Regions from separate parts of the Homo sapiens genome. Here all the other regions are linked to region 3. Evidence: promoter capture Hi-C in 16 types of primary human blood cells and fetal thymus (Javierre and others, 2016). All regions are on one chromosome and are shown on one strand. Each heading gives the region's core, a stretch centred on a gene start or on the middle of the fragment in contact. The rest is flanking DNA. Distances are from core to core; before and after follow the strand shown. Region 1 overlaps LOC107984215 (a long non-coding RNA gene). Region 2 overlaps PIP4K2A (phosphatidylinositol-5-phosphate 4-kinase type 2 alpha). Region 3 holds the start of SKIDA1 (SKI/DACH domain containing 1). Region 4 overlaps ARMC3 (armadillo repeat containing 3). Region 5 overlaps PIP4K2A (phosphatidylinositol-5-phosphate 4-kinase type 2 alpha). Region 6 holds the start of PIP4K2A (phosphatidylinositol-5-phosphate 4-kinase type 2 alpha). Region 7 overlaps PIP4K2A (phosphatidylinositol-5-phosphate 4-kinase type 2 alpha).

Evidence for each region. Contacts are between HindIII fragments. The CHiCAGO score rates a contact against its expected background, and 5 or more counts as called.
Region 1: a fragment that was not itself captured here is called in contact with the fragment with the promoter of SKIDA1 in region 3 in 2 of 17 cell types (naive CD8 T cells and total CD4 T cells); the score reaches 6.2 in naive CD8 T cells.
Region 2: a contact is called between a fragment that was not itself captured here and the fragment with the promoter of SKIDA1 in region 3, in 1 of 17 cell types (naive CD4 T cells). The highest score is 5.4, in naive CD4 T cells.
Region 4: a contact is called between a fragment that was not itself captured here and the fragment with the promoter of SKIDA1 in region 3, in 6 of 17 cell types (total B cells, naive B cells, fetal thymus and 3 more). The highest score is 14.2, in total B cells.
Region 5: a fragment that was not itself captured here is called in contact with the fragment with the promoter of SKIDA1 in region 3 in 1 of 17 cell types (non-activated CD4 T cells); the score reaches 5.7 in non-activated CD4 T cells.
Region 6: a contact is called between the fragment with the promoter of PIP4K2A here and the fragment with the promoter of SKIDA1 in region 3, in 3 of 17 cell types (activated CD4 T cells, total CD4 T cells and naive CD8 T cells). The highest score is 7.3, in activated CD4 T cells.
Region 7: a fragment that was not itself captured here is called in contact with the fragment with the promoter of SKIDA1 in region 3 in 2 of 17 cell types (activated CD4 T cells and fetal thymus); the score reaches 5.8 in activated CD4 T cells.

Annotation. Positions count from the first base shown.
Region 1 is chr10:23,090,607-23,093,306 of GRCh38, reverse strand. The region is part of intron 1 of LOC107984215 (a long non-coding RNA gene); the gene reads left to right. Among named protein-coding and RNA genes, the nearest start is that of MSRB2, 3.6 kb to the left of the region's middle. The HindIII fragment of the contact is 1,501 bases long and covers 653-2,153 here.
Region 2 is chr10:22,642,896-22,645,595 of GRCh38, reverse strand. All of the region lies in intron 1 of PIP4K2A (phosphatidylinositol-5-phosphate 4-kinase type 2 alpha), which reads left to right. Among named protein-coding and RNA genes, the nearest start is that of PIP4K2A, 70 kb to the left of the region's middle. The HindIII fragment of the contact is 9,116 bases long and covers 1-2,700 here.
Region 3 is chr10:21,524,235-21,526,934 of GRCh38, reverse strand. SKIDA1 (SKI/DACH domain containing 1) reads left to right here and starts at 1,253. Exons shown (of 4, transcript NM_207371.4): 1 at 1,253-1,388. RefSeq lists silencers at 229-378, 499-918 and enhancers at 574-1,217, 1,218-1,861. The HindIII fragment of the contact is 4,259 bases long and covers 1-2,049 here.
Region 4 is chr10:22,985,453-22,988,152 of GRCh38, reverse strand. All of the region lies in intron 10 of ARMC3 (armadillo repeat containing 3), which reads right to left. Among named protein-coding and RNA genes, the nearest start is that of ARMC3, 59 kb to the right of the region's middle. The HindIII fragment of the contact is 2,565 bases long and covers 71-2,635 here.
Region 5 is chr10:22,674,432-22,677,131 of GRCh38, reverse strand. The region is part of intron 1 of PIP4K2A (phosphatidylinositol-5-phosphate 4-kinase type 2 alpha); the gene reads left to right. Among named protein-coding and RNA genes, the nearest start is that of PIP4K2A, 39 kb to the left of the region's middle. The HindIII fragment of the contact is 5,805 bases long and covers 1-2,700 here.
Region 6 is chr10:22,713,133-22,715,832 of GRCh38, reverse strand. PIP4K2A (phosphatidylinositol-5-phosphate 4-kinase type 2 alpha) reads left to right here and starts at 1,255. Exons shown (of 10, transcript NM_005028.5): 1 at 1,255-1,650. The coding sequence starts at 1,507. RefSeq lists enhancers at 393-1,000, 1,001-1,609 and silencers at 770-1,439, 1,740-1,819, 1,990-2,109, 2,410-2,519. The HindIII fragment of the contact is 12,209 bases long and covers 1-2,700 here.
Region 7 is chr10:22,696,876-22,699,585 of GRCh38, reverse strand. The region is part of intron 1 of PIP4K2A (phosphatidylinositol-5-phosphate 4-kinase type 2 alpha); the gene reads left to right. Among named protein-coding and RNA genes, the nearest start is that of PIP4K2A, 16 kb to the left of the region's middle. The HindIII fragment of the contact is 1,569 bases long and covers 647-2,215 here.

The DNA.
Region 1 (2,700 bases), core at 154-2,653, 1.6 Mb before region 3:
GTTTTATCAATTTCAATTTCTGATTGCTAGTATGTAGATTTTGTATATTGATCTTGTATTCTGTAATCTTTCTAAACTCATTTCTTAGTTCTAGTAACATTTTATGGATTTTATCAGATTTTCTACATAGAAAAATCATGTCATCTGTGTAGAAAGAGTTTTACTCTTTCTTTTTAATACAGATGTCTTTGATTTCTTTTTCTTGCCTTATTGCACTGGTTAGAGCCTGCGCAGTGTTGAATAGAAATGTTGAGAGTGAACATCCTTGTCTTGTTCCTGATCTTAGAGGAAAAGTATTCAGCCTTTTACCATTAAGTATGATATTAGCTATAAGTTTTTCATAAATTTTCTATCAGATTAAGGAAATTTCTATTTGTAGTCTACTGAGAGTTTTTATCAGGAAGGGATGTTGGATTTTTGTCAAATGCTTTTCTGCAGCTACTGATATAATCATACCTTTTTCCTATTTTCTTTTTGTAGTTTGTTACTTGATTTTCAAACGTTAAACCAACTTAGTATTTCTTCAATAAAGCCTGCTTTGTCAGTTTTATTATTTGTTTCATGTATTGTTGGATTATGTTCTATGTATCATGGATTACATTTTTTTAGAATTTTTGTGTCTGTGTTGATGAAGGATGTTGGACTGAAAGCTTCCTCTCTTATAGTATCTGTCTGGTTTTGTATCTGAGTAATAAGTAAACAAATTCAAATCCAGAGAGGATAAGTACCTTGTCTATGATCACACTGCTAGTTAGTTGAAGAGTTTGTAAAGTTCCCCTAAAGTTTAGAATTTAGAAAATATCAAGGAATACCGGTTTAACTCACCCACCTTCACCCCCAATCCCAAGCAAAGTTAATAAATTAACTTAACATTGTGACATTGTGGGAAAAAAATCATGGAGTCTGGTGTAAAACACATTCAAGTCAGAATATCTTAAATTTAAAAGACGCATGAGCTTGATCAAGTATTCAACCTGTGACAGATCAGTTTTCTTATCCCCAAAATGGGGTTATTGTAAGGATTAGATACAACATACGTTAAAACACCTAGCAAACCCTTTGGTACATACTTGGTTTTAATAAACGTTAGTTGTTATTGAAGATTTAATGAGGACAACGGTAATTGGTAAACAGAGCTGATAACCAATCTATCCTTGCATTTCTACATATCCTCACACTCCCAGAAAGACATTCTAAGCACAGAGGAAGTCCCTCCCTCCCTACCACCATTCTCCTTTACACCTGCTAGGAGGACCTTTACCTCATCTGTGATCAAGCCCTTACTGGTCTTAAAATGTCCCCTCTTCTCACCACCATTTATCTGAATCCAACTTAACCATCAAGGCCATGCATTAACCTCACATTCTTGGACACATGGTCTTAGCCTGAACAAAACTCTACTTTATGTTTTCCCTTTTACTTTGTACACTGAGTGGTAGAGACTATCATTTGCCTGGCCGATATCCACTCTCTCTACTTACAAACAGATCTTTGATTTTATTAAGAGTAGCAATATGCCTAGCTAAAATGTTACATCTGTCAGCTCCCTTGTAGTTGGTGGCAATCATATGATGCTGTTATGGGCAATGATAGGAGCAGACATCACTGGGAGCTACCAGGAAAACTAGTTAAAGAGGAGCTGGCTCAGCACTGGACTTTTGCTCTGTCTTTTGTTTCTGCTTGGAAATTAGTCATGATGGCTGGAGCACTGGCAATCTTCTGGTATACATGAAGATGAGACCCACATCTTGATTTTAAAGAAGTAGAAGACATGAAGGAGCCCAGGATTCTGAAGACAGTGTGGAGTCAATATGCTAGTCTTGGATTGCCTGCCTTCAGATTTCCAATTACATGAGAGACCAATAAATCTATATTTTGTTTAAATCACTGTTACTGGGATTTTCTGTTTCATGAAGTTGACACAGTGTATATCTGATGTCCTGAATTTGATTGTGAGAATCTTCAGGAAAGGCAAAATTCTATAACTTTGACTCTTTGTATATCCAACACACTTCTCTGCAAACTATAAATTTGATAATAAAATCCCTAAAAGATAGGATAGAATGACCAAAAAATGGGAGATAAGTGCAAAAGCCAATTTGCTTTTCCCTACCAAAAACCATTTGGGAAAGAATGAGGGACTGGAATAAGCTTTACACAATTAATCTGCACTGAAAATACTTTATCTGCTTCCATCTGCCCAAAGTTCAATGTCGATACTCATTTTTGTTTTACCTCAATCTAGAGAATTCCTAGAAACTAACCAACTGGAACATCTAATATATATAAAATATAGTTTTAAAGCTCTAAAGGCAGTGAATGAAGACTTAAATAAATGGTTCGATAGAAAAAAATAGCATGGGATAAGCTCTGGGTTCAATTTCTAGGTGTTCTCCTAAGCAGATACAGATGTTTTGGACAAACCAGTCTCTGGGCCTTGGTTTGATTATCTGGAAAATGACACGAATACAGGGGAGGGTGGCCTAGAACTAGAACTCAAATTATATCTCAACTCTCTTCAGTCTGTAATTATATGACGGGTGGTGAAAAATGGAAAGATACACTTGCTGACCAAAGAGCTGAAATTACGAAGGTTAAAATACATTCAACTTATAGATTTAAGCTATGTCACTTATAATCCCAATGGATTACTTTACAGGAATTGAAAAAATAACAACTGAAATAAATGTGGATAAAAAT
Region 2 (2,700 bases), core at 141-2,640, 1.1 Mb before region 3:
TAATCTTTTTCTTTCTTTTCTTTTCTTTTCTTTTTTTTTTTTTTTTAAAGAAATAGAATCTTTCTCTGTTACCCAGAACTGGAGCACAGTGGTGCAATCGTATCTCATTGCAACCTGAAACTCCCAGGCTCAAGTGATGCTTCCATCTCAGCCTCCCGAGTAGCTGGGACTACAGGTCCTGCCACCATGGCTGGCTAATTTTTAAAATGTTTTGTAGAGACAGGGTCTCACTATGTTGCTCAAGCTGGTCTGAAACTCCTGGGCTCAGGTAATCCCCTCACCTCAGCCTCCCAAAGTGCTGGGATTATGGGCGTGAGCCATCGTGGCTGGCCCTAATTCATTTTTAATAACTAACCAGACACACTAGTGGTGTTATACGTGAGCATTAATATTTTTTTGTCATCGTCACCCATTTAAAAAAATTGCGTTTTCAAAATGAGTTGCTTCAACCTAGTGTGGAGAATCAAAATTTTAAAAGATCAAAATTTTGGTATTTTAAAAGTCAATTCTGACCAATTATAGTGATTTGGTTCTACCTGATAGTTTAATATTTCTTTGCTCTTTTAGTAAGTCCCCAGCATAGGGGGAAGGGGGTAGGCAGTAAGTCTTAGAAAACTGTCTTGCGAATTTACTGACTCTTATGGATTGGGAATTTCTAGGAGTATCTGGAAATTAACCGAAGCAGTTCTTTTTCTTCTCCAGTTAGGGCAAGTTGCCATGAAACAAATAATGGTGACTTGGTTGGTTCATTTAGTTCATTTATTTATTGAATATTTATGGCCTGTCCACTAATTACCTGGCACAAGTGTAGGTCCTAGAAGATACACACTAGGGAAAAAATAGACACACAGACTAGATCCCTACTGTCCTGTCTTACATTCTAGGAGGCGGAGAGAAAATGTTAAAAATGAACAAAGTAAGTTGTCAGGTCAGGTGCTACCAAGTGCTAGGGAAGGAGATTAGAGTGGTGGGTGCCATCTGGATAGGGTGGTGAGGGGAGCCCCATCTGCTAAGGTGGCATTTGAGAGGAGACTTGAGGTGAGAGACTGGGAAGTGAGGTGGGGACCGAAGCCTGACGGACTAGCCATGGGCAAACCAGGCAGGAGTTTAGCCAAGGTGAGGACTTGTAGAGGAGTTGGGCAGGGATGTGAAATAATTAGCTTGATGTTCTGCATAGGATGCCCTGGGCTGCAAGGTGTGGAACTGATAAGCCAAGACCTCCCAGGAGGCTTTGCCGCCATCTGCAGAATCATGCTGATGGCTTTGAAGAGAGAGGCAGTGGTGGAGAGAAGTGGCTGATTTGGGGCATGTTTTGAATAAAGAGCCCACAGATTTGCTGAAGACTTGACTGCAGGGTGAGAGGGGAGTCAGAGTCAACTCCGGGAGTTTGGGCCCAAGCTACTCTGTGCATGGAGGTGCTACTCTGTGCGTGGAGGTCCCACTGGCTGAGAGAGGGAGGGGTGAGCAGGAGCTGGTTGCAGGCCAGGGGAGAACAGGACTTCATATTTACGTGTTGTTTAGTTTTGGGGATGCTTGTTAGAGATCCAGCTGGGGATGGTGATTAGCAGGAGTTTAGAATTCAGTGGAGAGATTAGGGCTAGAAATGTTTTAAAAACTGAGAGCCATTGCACTGCAGATGGTGGGGCAGGCTGGGTTCTGGAGGATGATAAACCCTCCAAGGGAAGGGGAAGTGGCCAGGAGCCTTCCAAGAGGCAGAGGCGTGGTGTAATGTGATGGTAGGTGCTTCAGAGGGGATGACCGCTTCAGGGAGGAGGAGGGAATGGGGGTGTGGGATTGGTCAGGAGGAGCACAAGGCACCTACCCCATCTTCTGGTTCTGTGGTTCCTGCGCAGAAGAAAAAAATACTTGAGGGGGGCTGCAAGGGAAGTGTGGTCCTTGGGGACAATCAGAATTTGGCTGGCATGAAAAGATAAAGGTTCAGCGTTAGGTTAATTTTTGCTGATGAGAAATTATGACTCTTGGAGAGCCCCATGGAGGGATTTGGGGGCCTGGGATGGCAAAGGTTCAGGTCAACTGGGTCAGGTTAGGCAATCTTTGGAGGGGAATGGAGCGAGCTGGTGGCTAGAATTCTTGTAACATCTGAATTAAACAGGGATGGAAGGCCTGGTGGGATTAATCTGCCTTCCTAAGACAGATCTAAGGGTGAGCAAACTTTTTCTGCAAAAAGACAGTAAGTATTTTAGGCACTGTATTTAGGCCATACAGTTTCTGTCAGTGACTCAAACTTCTATCATAGCACGAACACAGCCATAGATAACACAAATCAATGGGCCTGGCTCTGTTCCAATAAAACGTTATTGACAAAAGCAGCCAGCGGCCAGATTTGCCCATAGGATGTAGTCTGGCAAACTGTAGACAAGGGAGTTAGTAATTGGTGAGAGAGGGATGAGGAGATGGGTGGGAAGAAGGGGCCCGAGACTTGGAGTTGGGAAAACTGGAGCTCCAGGAGCCAAGTCCTCAGTCTGTCCCCATCCTGATGAGGTGTCCATCACCCACAGGGAGAACTAGGTGTTTCCACTCCTCCTCCTTGGTGCTGGAGCCTTTTGAAAATTGCTTAATGAAATAGGCAGGTAATCCCAGGTCTCATATTCAGGAGCGTGATGAGCTTCTCCTCATCTCCACAGCAGACAGACTAGAGGAAAGAGACTTAAGATGTAATCAGAGATGTTTACATTGACA
Region 3 (2,700 bases), core at 4-2,503:
CAAACCCTAGAACGCTTTTAACCCTTAAGACATCTTGTATTAAAAGAAAAAAAAAGCATGTATGTCTTAAAACCGGCCAAAGAACCATCTCCTCGCTCTTTATTTCCTCCTGTAAATGCTATTATTTTAAACTCTCCATTTTAAACTCGTCCTTCGGACGAGAGGGCAGAGAATGTGCCCGGCAGCACGCAGCAAATCAGAGGTTTTATCTTACGCCTCCTGGGACTGGGAAAAAAAGTGGAACGTGGCCGAGGGAGCTTCCAGGGCAGAAAAGCGACACAATTCGCTGGGGACGCCGCTGGGCCAGGCCAGGCGGGGGAGGCGCGGCGGGGGCGTCGAGGGCTCTCGGGCTCCGGGCCGGGGCGCCGCTGCGAGGAGGGGAGGCGGTTTTAAGTCATGGGGGCTGGGAGGGCGGCGGCGGGTCGGGCGTGACGAGACTTTCGGAGGCAGGATGGGGCGGCGGTGGAGTTGCCTGGGCTTTCTCAGCACCCCCCCCAACACACCCAAATAAAAAAAGGAAAGTTAGAAGGAGGCGGAGAGGAGGACAGCCATCCCCATTTCCTCCCCGCGACGCCGCGGAAGGGCTGGGGCCGCTGCGAGCAGAGAGAGGGCGCGGGATGAGGCGGGCCAATCGCAGTCAACAGGTCCAGGCCTCAGTGGGGCAGCTGAGCCGGGAGGCCGGCGCCCCCTCCCCTCGGCTCCCCGTCCCTCCCCTCCCTCGCAGGCCCGGCGCGGTAGGGGAGGCCCGGCCCGGCCCTCCCCGCCCCGCGCGGACTCGCTGCGGCCGACTCCGCCGGGGCAGTCGGGGTGGGGGTGGGGCGGGGGTTCCCCGCCGGAGAATCCTCCCCCGGGGCTGGCGGCGGGGGCGGGGAGCGAGAGCCGGGAATGGAGGATTAGGAAGGACTCCAGCTCGGCACGAGCGCGGCCCGCGCGAGGGATCCTGGGTAAAAAGTGGCCGCGCGGCACCGGAGAGCGCGGAGAGGAGCCGGGGTCAGGGGTCACGGCCCTGGAGCCCCGCGTGCAGAGCCCCCCACGTGAACGCAGCGAGCAGGAGGAACCTTTTTGTTTTCGACCGCGCCAGCATGCTCCCCTATTGACCGAGCTGCTTTTCCTGGGCTGCTGGGGAGAGGAGCTCCATTGCGGAGCTCTTAACCCCACCCCCACCTTCCACCGCCAACACACTTCCCAACTCAACCCTTCCTCTCAACTCTCATCCCAGCCCCCCGTCCTGAGCTTGCAATAACGCAGTAAATTTGCTTTAACAACAAGTGGGGGTGGTTGAATTTACTCCTCCCTCTCCTCTCTCCTCCCCTTCCTCTTGCTGCGGTTCTTGACACTACTACAAACCAGGACTATAAACATAAACATGTGTCACTGTAACAGGGCAGGTAATATACGGATTTTGAGGCGGGGTGGGGTGGAGCGGGGCTTGGTCGCCGCTTGGAGGGCAGTAAAAAGTCGCGTTTCACGTGCTCGACGGCTTTGGGGACTCCCGCACACATCGATCCGTTTATATAATGCCGAAGGCACTTGGTCACTTATTCAGCCACGCAGACCCACAAAGCCAGACTTGCGGATAACCAGCGTACCCCAAAGCAAATGCATTTCAATACGAATCCCTCTCCTTTCCCAGCCAGTGCTGCCATTTCTTCTATTAGCAAACAGTAACGTGATACTTGAATCCCCTTTCCTTTTTAAAAATTCTTTTCCAGATAGCCATGAGATCATTTTTCGACCTAAATAGTACATCTCTCCCATAGCCACTACCTACACATTTTGTGCGCAGAAACCCCTTCAAACAGCAAGAAAGTCTATTTAAATGACTGAGTTCGAAATCTGGTGTGCAAAGGGTATTTCTTGGGCTTTGCCTCCGTGCATTGAGCAACTTCTGCTGCAAGTTGCTGACACTGGCGCGGTGGAGATCCGCCACAGCAAGCCTTTTTTATTATTATTTAGTCTATATCTGCCTCTCAACTTTTTTCTCATTCTTAGTTCAACAAGCCAGCAACCACTACTTAAGGTAGAGTAAAGCGAATCCCTTCCCAAGCTTTTTGGCTTGAAACGGAGGGAGATACAGAAAATGTTCAGATGGGGAAGTGGTTCCCTTTGTTCTTTCATTGTTTCTCTACGAACTGGTGGATACAAGGACAAACACTTACCTTCTCTTCTTTTTGCTCCACAAACCAGACGTTCCCATCAGCCTTAAAATACACAATCCACCTTGAAAGTAACTACGGATGTCGGGAGAGTTTGTATTCCATTCTTTTTCGCTCTCTGCCCTCTTTTAGCGTAGGATTAAGTTGCAGAGCACGTTGCTGCAAGCTGTAGCCCCCCCCCCCCCCCGCCTTAGTGAATCGGTCACGTTTAGGACCCTCTAAGTCCATCCTAATTCTGCCAGTAGAATTGAGGGTATTGGAGCTCTAAACTTTCAAAAGGAAAGGGGCCTGCAACTCTCCAGAAAACTTACAAATACCCCGAAATTTTTTACCATTGTGTTTTTGCACCACATCACCAAATAGTATTTGCCAAGAAATAATAGATATGTCTTTGAGAAAAAAAAATTTTTTTAAGTTTATACTTAGCAATGCGCTGCTTAGACAGATGTAGTAAAAGGCAGGTTTGTATCGGCATTTAACGGAATGAGTGCGTTTTCCATAACGTTTGTTGTGCCATGTGTTTTTTTAAAACACAAACAAAACA
Region 4 (2,700 bases), core at 104-2,603, 1.5 Mb before region 3:
CGAAAAGAATGTTTAATACTGATAATACAAAATGACAAGTTATCCATATATAACGAGGACATTCTAAGCTTCCCAAAGCACTCAAATGCACATCCATATAATTTGGGGGCATTCTATCTGTTTGTGGAGTCCCTTTGGAGTGTACTGCTTACAATTTCATCATTCCCTTGTGCGGTCCTGACCATAGGGAACACAACAGCAAGACAGTTTCTGGGGAAGAGCTTTTTGTCTCTGGTATTGTAGAAGCTGGCAATGGGCCAGTAATCAATCAATTAATTTTTCAGTCACCACTATATGTGCTAACATTTAGAACTTTCTTGGGTCACTGCTGTCATGGAAAGTCAAAAGGGGTACAAAAAATAAAAAATAAAAAGCAAAGAAATGGTAATAAAAGGGTCTCTAAGATTTAGGTAAATCACTCAGTTCTTCATGGGGATGACATGGAATAATTATGAAGAATCAGAGTTAGTGTGATCTATGTGTAAACAAGGGACTTATGATCATGCATTTACTGTAACAAAACTTCAGTTCTCACTTCTCTATAGTTATTAAAATAATTGTAGTTATTACTGTGTATATTTTTATTTTGTTCATTGCATTTTATTTCCTAAGATAATTGCATCTTTTGAAAACTGTCTAGCCAACATTTATACTAATCTTTATTAGTTCTGAACATTTATTCTAATCTTTTCATAGTTTACCAGTGGCCAAATTTAGTTAGCATTGCCAAAGGGAAGTGAAAAACACTGAACCCTTTTTCTTCTTGGAACAACTTAAACTCTAATTCTGATCAGATCCAACAGATGGCAGTGATGTTATAAAGTAATAGTTTAAAACATTCTTTTAATGTGTAGGGTCTGCTCCTCAGAGAATAAGTCTCTCAGTACTTGCATAAATAATATGGAACTTTGATATGATTAATTGGATAGAAGCATACAGGATAAATGTAACATGAAATTTAGCTGAAAACAATATTTCCTATGTCAAAAATAAACGGTTTTCTCGTTTTCAAAAGGCATTACAAATTGTTAACTGTAAAAGAGATTAGCAGTATACCAAGAAAAGATATGTGTCCAAACAACTACATTTTTCTATAAAATTCATTATTGCTTCTTGGTTTCCATTTTTATTTGTTCCTTTCTACAGGCATTGTTTTAGCCTTCACACCTTTTATTTATTCACTTAAAAATAGTTTTACTTTGCTTTCTCCTTCTTTCACTGCTAATAAGTGAATCTGGCTGTTCTTGTCCCCTTTTACTATGCCTTTATAAAAATAGTTATTTTTATTCTTATTCATTGCCTTTTCATATTTGTACCCACTTTAAGTTATCTTTATTCTGTAGATAATAATTAGAAGTATCAATAGGAGGCTCTTATAGGGAAGCCTCCACTGTTGCTTCTGTTTTCCAAGTTATATAAAAACAAAGAAAACAACACTGATGATTGCTTTCTGTTTTAAGTAATGGCCATTATTGATTGTTTGACAACAGACTTTGTTTGTCAAATAGACTTTGTTTTCATCACTTTTCTTTTACTTTTGGGTTTTTTGTTTTGTTTTGTTTTGTTTTGGGTTTGTTTTTTTTTTTTTTGTTTTTTTTTTTGAGATGGAGTCTCACTCTGTTGCCCAAGCTGGAGTGAAGTGGCGCGATCTTGGCTCACTGCAACCTCTGCCTACAGGGTTCAAGCAATTCTCATGCCTCAGCCTCCCATGTAGCTGGGATTACAGATATGCACCACCATTCCTGGCTAATTTTTGTATTTTTAGTAGAGATGGGGTTTTGCCATGTTGGCCATGCTGGTCTCGAACCCCTGACCTCAAGTAATCCACCCGCCTTGGCCTCCCAAAGTGCTGGGATTACAGATGTGAACCACCTTTGCCCGGCCATTTTTTGGTTGTATTTTTGATGTAAGCCTATTTTCCTTCGAATGCCTACTATGGGATGGACAGTGTTCTAGATGCTTGGGATGCATCAGTGAATTAAATAGATGAAGGCTGCTCCCTTCATGGATGCTAGTGGTTGGTGTGTGGCGCGGGGGGGGGGCGTGCAGTGCAGGGGTGTGGGGGTGCAGAAAATAAATGATGATAAGTGTACCAGGTGAGTTACATGCTATGTTAGAAAATGATAAGGGTATGTGAAAAGGGCAGCAGGGAAGGAGCGTTGAAAATATGCATGTGTGGAGTGCAATCTTAAGCCGTGTGGTAATGCTAAGTAGCTTCGCCAAGGTGACATTGTAACAGAGATGTAAACGGGGTGAGGGAGAGAACCACAGCCTGCATGGGAAGAGGTTTTCCAGGCAAGAGGGTGTCACTACAATGACCTAAGGCAAAATACTCCCGGAAGCGGAATTTACTTCCAGGATATATTTTATGTCTATTTTACTCTACAACATTAGCCCATTTGTAAGTAAAAGGATTCATGTTTGTTAATAATTTTTAACTACCATCCATATCCACGTATCCATAACTCAAATACCTGGAAATTTCACATAACCACAACATACACGAGAATTATCTGTGGGGGTAGGGAATGGCCTCTGAGAAGCAAAAATTATGTACATACCAAAGAGGCATCAGGCCCTCCTGTATGGCTTTTGTGTACAATTTGATAAAGCTGGGTTACCTGGAATCCAAGCTTTTCATGGACAGAAAGGAAGGATTTGAAAGGAACTCTGACAGGGAGGAAGTTAGAGCTCTGCCAA
Region 5 (2,700 bases), core at 83-2,582, 1.2 Mb before region 3:
ATGTACATGGTAACCTCCTTTAATAACTTGATATGAAATTCACAGATGATAGCTCTTAAAAAATGAATATAATGTCCTAAGTATAACAGGAAAGAGAAATATAAGGAAAGTAATTTGCAATAAAATCATGCTTTTTCTTCTCCTATTTCTAGTATTGGTGGCACAGATTGTACCAGACTAACCTACTAGCAGGTAATAAATATTGTAAGCCTCTTAGGCAAAACAGCATCTCCCAGTATTCAGCTCTTGCCATCCCTCTGAGCTAAGCCTTTCTCCCCTGTGGCACTTAGTACTGAGTGACATTCTGGTTTTTTAATTGTTGGCTTCCTCCTCTGCTAAGAAGCTCCATGAGGGAAAGGAATGTTTTCTGTTTCATTCAGCTCTGTATCCTCAGCACCCAGAACAGTGCCTGGACTATAGCAGTTGCCCAGTTAAGCAGATGTACCTTTTACTTCTTGTTCTCTGATTCATCAGCAGGAAGAGCCTATGAAAGGTCTCCCTTATCAGCCCATCACTGAGCCAGATATTCCCTCTGGTTAGTCTCTTGCCCTTGTTCCTCTCTGCTGGATGAGATGATGTAGCAGCTGAAGACTCTCCACCTATAACTGTATCGTGCCACATTCAGATTTTTAGAATGCCCCTCTTGATCTGGCCATATCTACATTAAATGCTATTTTCTTCAAGCAGTGAGACAAAGCTGAGAGACGATAGGTTTAAAGATTGGTTACAAATTCTGATGAAGACTGGTCCTTGAAGTCTTTGGGCTGTTACATGGCCCTTTGGAAGCAATAGGTCATCACTGTGAACAACTTCTGTAGGTACTGGTTTCCATACGAAGGGAATACATCTTGATGACTTTACATGAAGTCTTAACTTTATTTGCTGTTTAATGTAAGTTGGTCAAGGGTCTTATTGAGCAGAAGAAACTTGGGAAATGAAAGCACTGTTACTGGGACCACAGTTTTTGAGCCTCTGCTGTCAATGGAAACAGACACTTCAAAAATGCTCTCCACGGAGGCTCAGAGAGATGAAAAGACAGGAAAAGGAGCCGAAAAGATGAAAAGACAGGAAAGAAAAGACAAAAAGGAAAAGGAGCTCCATGTGCCATCATGGAGCACAGGGACAAAGAAATGGCAACAGTGTGTCTGTTTCCCTGTTAATGGTTGTTGAGAAATACTAGCCACAGTTTCCAAAGTATTTAAGGAATAGGAAATGTGCAATAAATTATGTGATTTTTTTGTGGATCAGTTTCCTTCTTCCAAGTCGGGAAATGTCAGAGAAACACTGTGTTGTTCAAGGATGACAGCCAGGAACTAGTCAGGCTTCAGCACCTCCTGCCATTGACCCTCTTCTCTGAGCATTATGTAGAGTGGATGTGAGGGCTCATTCATGGACTGTGTCAGGAGAATTGTACTACATTGATCATTTAAGGGAACCATTCTGCTTGTTCAGGAGAGTCTTTTCATTACTTATAATGGCTTGTTTATTGACATTTCTTATTTACTGTTTCTCCTCAACAGTGTTTTTGTTTGTTTGTTTTTTGAGACGGAGTCTCACTCTGTTGCTCACGCTGGAGTGCAGTGGTGCAATCTTGGCTCACTGACTGCAACCTCCACCTCCCGGGTTCAAGCGATTCTCCTGCCTCAGCCTCCTGAGTAGCTGGGATTACAGGCACACGACACCATGTTCGGCTAATTTTTGTATTTTTAGTAGAGATGGGGTTTCACCATGTTGGTCAGGCTGGTCTCAAACTCCTGATTTCGTGATCTGCCCACCTCGGCCTCCCAAAGTGCTGGGATTACAGGTGTGAGCCACCGTGCCTGGCTTCTCCTCAACAATGTTCTAAGAGATAAAGCAAAAGTATCAGGTAATATGTCATTGTAATGGTACCTGGGATAGAAGAATTTCATTTGCTTGCTACTATCTCCACTCTTACATGAATACAAATGTTCCCAATTTTTAGTCAATGTACCAATCAACATTGAATGAATGATATGTAAATTACAAGAATGAAGGGCCAGAAAGATGTCACGTATCAGTGATGACTGTTCTGAGCTGTGCCCTCTTAAAGCAATAAAGTAAGTTCTCTTTGATTAATAGTTACGTTGGCTACCTTTTAGCTGCCCATGAAAAATATAGATGGACTTTTTTTTGTTTTTTAAAGACAGAATCCTACGGTCTTGTTTTGTTGCCCAAGCTGGAGTACAGTGGCATGATGATAGCTCACTGCAGCCTCAAACTCCTGGGCTTAAGCAATCTTCCTGCCTCAGCCTGCTGAGTAGCTACGACCATAGGCACACCACCACTCCTGGCTGGGTTTTATTTATTTATTTATTTATTTATTTATTTTTTGGTAGAGACTGAGTCTTGCAATATTGCCTGGACTGGTCCTGAAATCTTGGCCTCAAGCATCCTCCCACGTTTAGCCTCCCAAAGTGCTGGGATTACAGGCATGAATCACTGTGCCTGGCTGGAAATTTCTTAGTAAAACAAAATTCGTTAGTGGTTCAAATATATTTTCAGTGCTATAAAGAATATAACATTTCTACCTATTGTCAGCTAAAGCTAAGAGTTAAAGAACTACACCTAACATAGTGACTGGCATAAAGTAGATGTACAATAAGTATTTGCTGAATGTGTAACTGGATGGCTGGAATTAACTTTGAGTAGGAGAAACAGCTGGTCTGGTCTTCTTTTTTT
Region 6 (2,700 bases), core at 6-2,505, 1.2 Mb before region 3:
AGTGGGAGAATCACCTGAGTCTGGGGAAGTAGAGCCTGCAGTGAGCTGTGATTGCACCACTGCACCCCCAGCCTGGTTGACACAGCGAGACCCTATCTCAAGGGAAAAAATAAAAATAAAAAAGAGGTATAGCTCACATTTATTTTAATGTTTAATATTAGAAGTGTTTTGAATTTTTACTTTGAAGTTCGGTGATGTTTTTGTAACCGGAAATAATGCTGTAGGAACTTAACTCTTTTTTTATATGTCAGCCTATGGCAAATTTGGTTTTGTTATATGTTGTTTTGCTTAAGGTGACAGTTTCCAAGAACCTACTCCGTGAGGACTGGTGAGCTGGGTCAGAGTAAATAGCACAGGATGACGACTGCAAGGACGATATGGGGGCAGCAGGGTTTTAGACATACTTGGAATGGCAGCTTCCTGAGGTAGGCCAAGTATTCTCAGCATAATAAGGGCTACATTTAGGTGTATCTGGAGGAAGACGGTGAACAGATTTCCACGGACGGTGAGTGCACTGGAAAACAGGCAGGGATGGCAAGTACCATAGTGATGGATTGGAAGAAGGTGCACTTTGGGGCATGATTCTACTGGTTAAGCCAAGGGCTCTCGATGAGGTCCGAGGTTCCTGCCCCGGGCACGGAGTGGGTTGGCAGTGACAGCCCAGCCTATTACGTGGGAGTCTCCCTCTTGAATGGCTCCAGGAGGCCCATATCGAGGGTCTGAAAGGCCAGACGGTTATCCGCACAAAAGTATTAAGTTCATTTCAGGGACTGACCCGGCAATGTGCCCGGGTCCTTCCCCTCGGTGCTGGGAAGCCCTGGTCTCCCTGCAGCATTTCACACCTGGCTGGGTCTCCTGACTCGTGGCGTGGGTGAGTGCATGAGCCTCCCTCCTTCGCCTGATCGACGCCTGGGGGCTCCTCTCCCCAACCTCCTCACTCTGCCCACTCTGTCCTCTCCCTCCTTGGGGAGCGGCAGGGGACGCCTAGCCGGGGTCCCCAGGCTCCCGCTCGCAACCCACGGCCTCCTCCGCGGGCAGGGAGCGAACGCCCGGAGGTCGCCCGCGCACAGGGGGCGGCCCGGCTGCAGCGGAGCCGGGGCGGGAAGGCGCAGCCTAACGGTCCAGCTGCCGCGCCCCGCGCCCCGCACCCAGTGCCCCGCCCGCGGCGCCGCAGCCGCCTCCCGCCTGCCCGCCCGCCCCCTGCGTCATGACGCCGGCGCCCAACGCGGAAGCCGCTCGCCGCGCGCCGGGTCCAGCCGCGGGCTGAGCGCGGATCCGCGGCGGGCGCAGGATACGGGCCGGGGCGCGAGCCGAGCGCAGTCTGCCGGGCCGAGCGGGCGGAGCGAGCCGAGTGGGGCTGAGCGCGCCGGCGGCGGCGGGCGGAGCGGAGCGCGGCGCGCCGGGGCCGCCGCCGGGGGGATGCGGCTGCCTCCCCGGGCCGGGGTGTAGAGAGGGCGGGTCCCCGGCCTCGGGAGCACGGCGGTGGAGGGGACATAGGAGGCGGCCATGGCGACCCCCGGCAACCTAGGGTCCTCTGTCCTGGCGAGCAAGACCAAGACCAAGAAGAAGCACTTCGTAGCGCAGAAAGTGAAGCTGTTTCGGGCCAGCGACCCGCTGCTCAGCGTCCTCATGTGGGGGGTAAACCACTCGGTAAGGGCTCAGCTGCGGCGCGCGGTCCCCTTCCTCCTCCTCCTCTTCCTCCTCGTTCCCCTCCTCCTCCGGCTGCAGCTGCTGCGGGGCGGGGAGCCGGAGTCAGCCCTGGACCTCCGGCTGCTCGCCCGCCTCGAAGCCCCCAGCCCCGCGGCGCGTGCCCCCAGCCCTCTGGGCCGCCCAGGCACCACCACTTGCGTCCCCTTTAGATCTATGGCCCGGTGCGGGTCGGGGGTCCCGTGTGCATGTGAGTCTCACGGTGGGTGCCAGTGCCGCCCCCGGTCCGCCCGCCCGCCCGCAGGTCGGTCCCCGCAGCCTGGGAGGTAGGAAGTTTGTGCGGGGCACGGCGCCTCGGCTGTCAGCCCCGGCGGGAGCTGCTGGGGGCCGGGTCCGGGCGACCGCTACCCGGTGTGGGGGCCGCGCGGCGCCCGCGTCTTCCGCTTGCGGGCAGGTGTACCTGTCCCGGGCTGGGCGCGTGCGAGCCTCCCACTGGGGCACTGGGGCGAGGATACCGGAGCGCGAGCAGATTTGGGGCAGCAGCTTTAGTGCTTAGGTCCTTTCTTTTTCCTTTAAAGGCAATATTACTGGGCACAAGTCGGCTTTTTGGCAAAGCAGCAGCCGATGTAAATATGGCTCTGGCGTCGGGCGGCATCCCTGCGCTTCTCCCGCATCGCCCTGCCGCTGTGCGGGCTGGAGAGCCCTTGGCGGGGAGTCTTCCTCCCTTCGTCGCCTCCCCCCACTTTGGGGAGTCAGGCAGAAGTCACCGACTGCGGAAGGGCGGCCGGGGCGGGGACAGCAGGCGGGGGTCCCGGCGGGCGCGGGCGGAGGGGGTCCCGAGTTGGCCGCACCCGCTGTGGGGGGTGTGGGAAAGGCTGGAGAACGCGTGGAAAGGTTAGCGTCACGCACAGTCGGGGATTGGAGGATGCGCCGCTGCGGGCTATGCGGACTGCGGTTCGAGGGTCTGAAATAGCCTCCTGCTGATCTGACAGCGAGAAACTCCTGCAGTTTTAATCCACTTCGATAGGATCAGGAAACATGATCGGAGCTGTT
Region 7 (2,710 bases), core at 182-2,681, 1.2 Mb before region 3:
AAGCAGAACATTAATTTATTTGTCGGCCCTTTGAGTTTTCTTACTAATCCTCTTCTGGCCTGACCATGTGCCCCTCCCAAGTTTCGCACATTCCCAGGTATCTAGTGTGTTCAGTTGTCTCCCTGCGCTACTCAGCAGCTACCTTTTTCAGCATTGGCCCTAGCTTGCTTCTGTGCCCAGGAACAGGAACAGAAGTTTTCTTCTCAGGGGTCCCCTGTCTCTCTTAGACCAAGTCCACAGGCTTTTACTACATTAGGCCTTGGAGTACATTTCCTGTAGAATCAAAGGGCCAACTTACAAATGAATGTTTGGAACACAACCCATTCATAAATTAGGTTCTGCCTGCACCCAGATGGAAAGTTAAATGCTTTGGCATCAGAAGAACTGTTGGGAAACAGATATTGTTTCTGAAATTATGATAAATCCATAAGGCACTTTCTTTTTGGCACGTTGCGCCAAAGTAGGAGGACAGGAGCAAATTTTAGGGACATTAAAAAAATAGGTTAGGAGAAGCTAATCTTTTTGTCTAATTCACTTTCTCTTGCAGTTCTGGCATCGGATACTCACAGATTTAACACATGCCAATGAATATTTGAGCCAGGAAATAGCCAATAGTGAATATTTTTATTATGTGTTAGATAAAGCTTCTTTCTTCTTATGCTTATTTAGGTGAACTAGAAATATGGTTTCAGTGAAATTTAAGTTCTGATAAGTACAGATACATAGCATATTTTCTGAAAAATTTGAAAAACACACACAAATATAAAAAATTACCATAACCATTCTATCAAGCAACCAGTGTTAATGTTTTAATGTTTCTTTCCAATGTCTTTTTAAAAAAATCTCATTGAGACTATTCTATGTATTTAATCTTACTATGTATTCTTAACAATTATTTTAAATTTTTGATCACTGCTTAATAATTAGGTTGGTGCAAAAGTAATTGTGGTTGTTGCCATTACTTTCAGTGGCAAAAACTGCTATTCCTTTTGCACCAACCTAAATAGTTTAATGAAGTTTAATAGTCCAAACATTGGTCCCAGTATTTTGCCACCACAAATAATGTTGCTGTCAGCATCTCCCTGTATGAAACTCTTTCTTATTTAGGATGATTTCCTTAGAAGAGATTCTCTTTTTGGGGAATTTACTTGGTCAAAGGGTATGAATATTTTAAGGCTCTTGGTACATGTTGCCAAGTTGCTTTCAAAAAGGGTTATACCAGATTATAACCCTAGCAGTGTGGCTAAGAGCTGCTTTCCCACATCTTCTGCTTTCAGGGTTCTAAATTGAACAGCAAAGATTGGAATAAAAAGATATCCTTTTTTCCCATATGCTTTTAACCCATTTAAATCTCTTTATAGAGATTTTCAGCAGTTTGACCAAAGATGTACGCACATGGGCAGTGTGGGAGTATCAGGTCTGAGGTTGGAAGATGGCTTCCACATAGGCTGCCTGGCCCGAGTCTGCCCTCTGAAAAGAGCTGCTTTCAACTGACCCACTTCTCCCAGTTTTTCTTCGTCGGACTCTAAGCAGAGAGTGCCTGCATCCCAGAAGCAGGTCGCTGTCCACTGTCTGTGGTTGGTTAATTTTTGCTGGCCATAGCCCACATGATTTATATTAAACTCAATCCAATAGCATTTAATGGCAGGCAGAATTCTTCCCATGTAAGTAGACTAGTCAGGAATTTGCCTTTCATTATCCTCGGTCTGACTGCTTAACGTTAGACTCGACCTATGGACGATTCACATGAACCGTTTCAGAAAATGTAATGTGACATCTGCTAGAGTCCACAATTACAGGGTGTGTGTGTGTTTGTGTGTGTGTGTGTATGTGTGTGTTTAATTTTTTAAAAAATTTTCCGAGATGCAGTTTTGCCCTGTTACCCAGGCTGGAGTACAGTGGTGTGATCATAGCTCACTACAGCCTCGAATTCTTGGGTACAAGTGATTCTCCTGCTTCAGCCTCCTGTAATAGCTGGGACTATAGTTGTGTGCCACCATACCCCGCTAATTTTTAAAAACAAATTTTTGTAGAGATGGGGGTCTTGCTGTGTTGCCTAGTAGGATAGTCTTGAACTCCTGGGCTCAAGTGATCTTTCTGCCTCGGCCTCCTAAAGTTTTGGGATTTCAGACATGAGCCACCACACCCAGCCTTGCTTTTTAAATGTTGGATGTTACCATCCCTCTACTGTGGTCCTGTAGTTTGGCTTGAAGCTTGATTCTGTGCGCTAGCCACTCTGTCAAGAATTATGTAGTATAAATAATGCCGGTCACTTGTGCTGACCTCACAAACATTCCGAAGCCTGGCAAGGCAGGTGTGGAAGCTCAGAGCTTTGCCATCTAACTGAGTACTCAGGCTTCTTTCCATTTAGATAAGACACTCAGAAAGGAAAAGCAATGCAATTTTAATTTTTACTTAACATACAAAGTAGCCTTTTTTTTTTTTTTAAGCTGAAGGAAATGAACTCCAGAGAACACTGAAGAAAATTGAAGGAAAAAAGTAGAGCTCTTAGAAAGAAAGGAAAGGTCACGCTTATAAACTGTAGCCATCTAGATAAACTGTTATTTCCACTTTATGTGGATGTATTTTATTGTGACAGTGCTAACTACAGTTGCCAATTTTCAGGAGGCCTAAATTACTGACTATTTTAGATGAATTCAGGCTTTAAAATTAGCCCTGGGATAATATATTTCTTTTAAAATGGGACCTT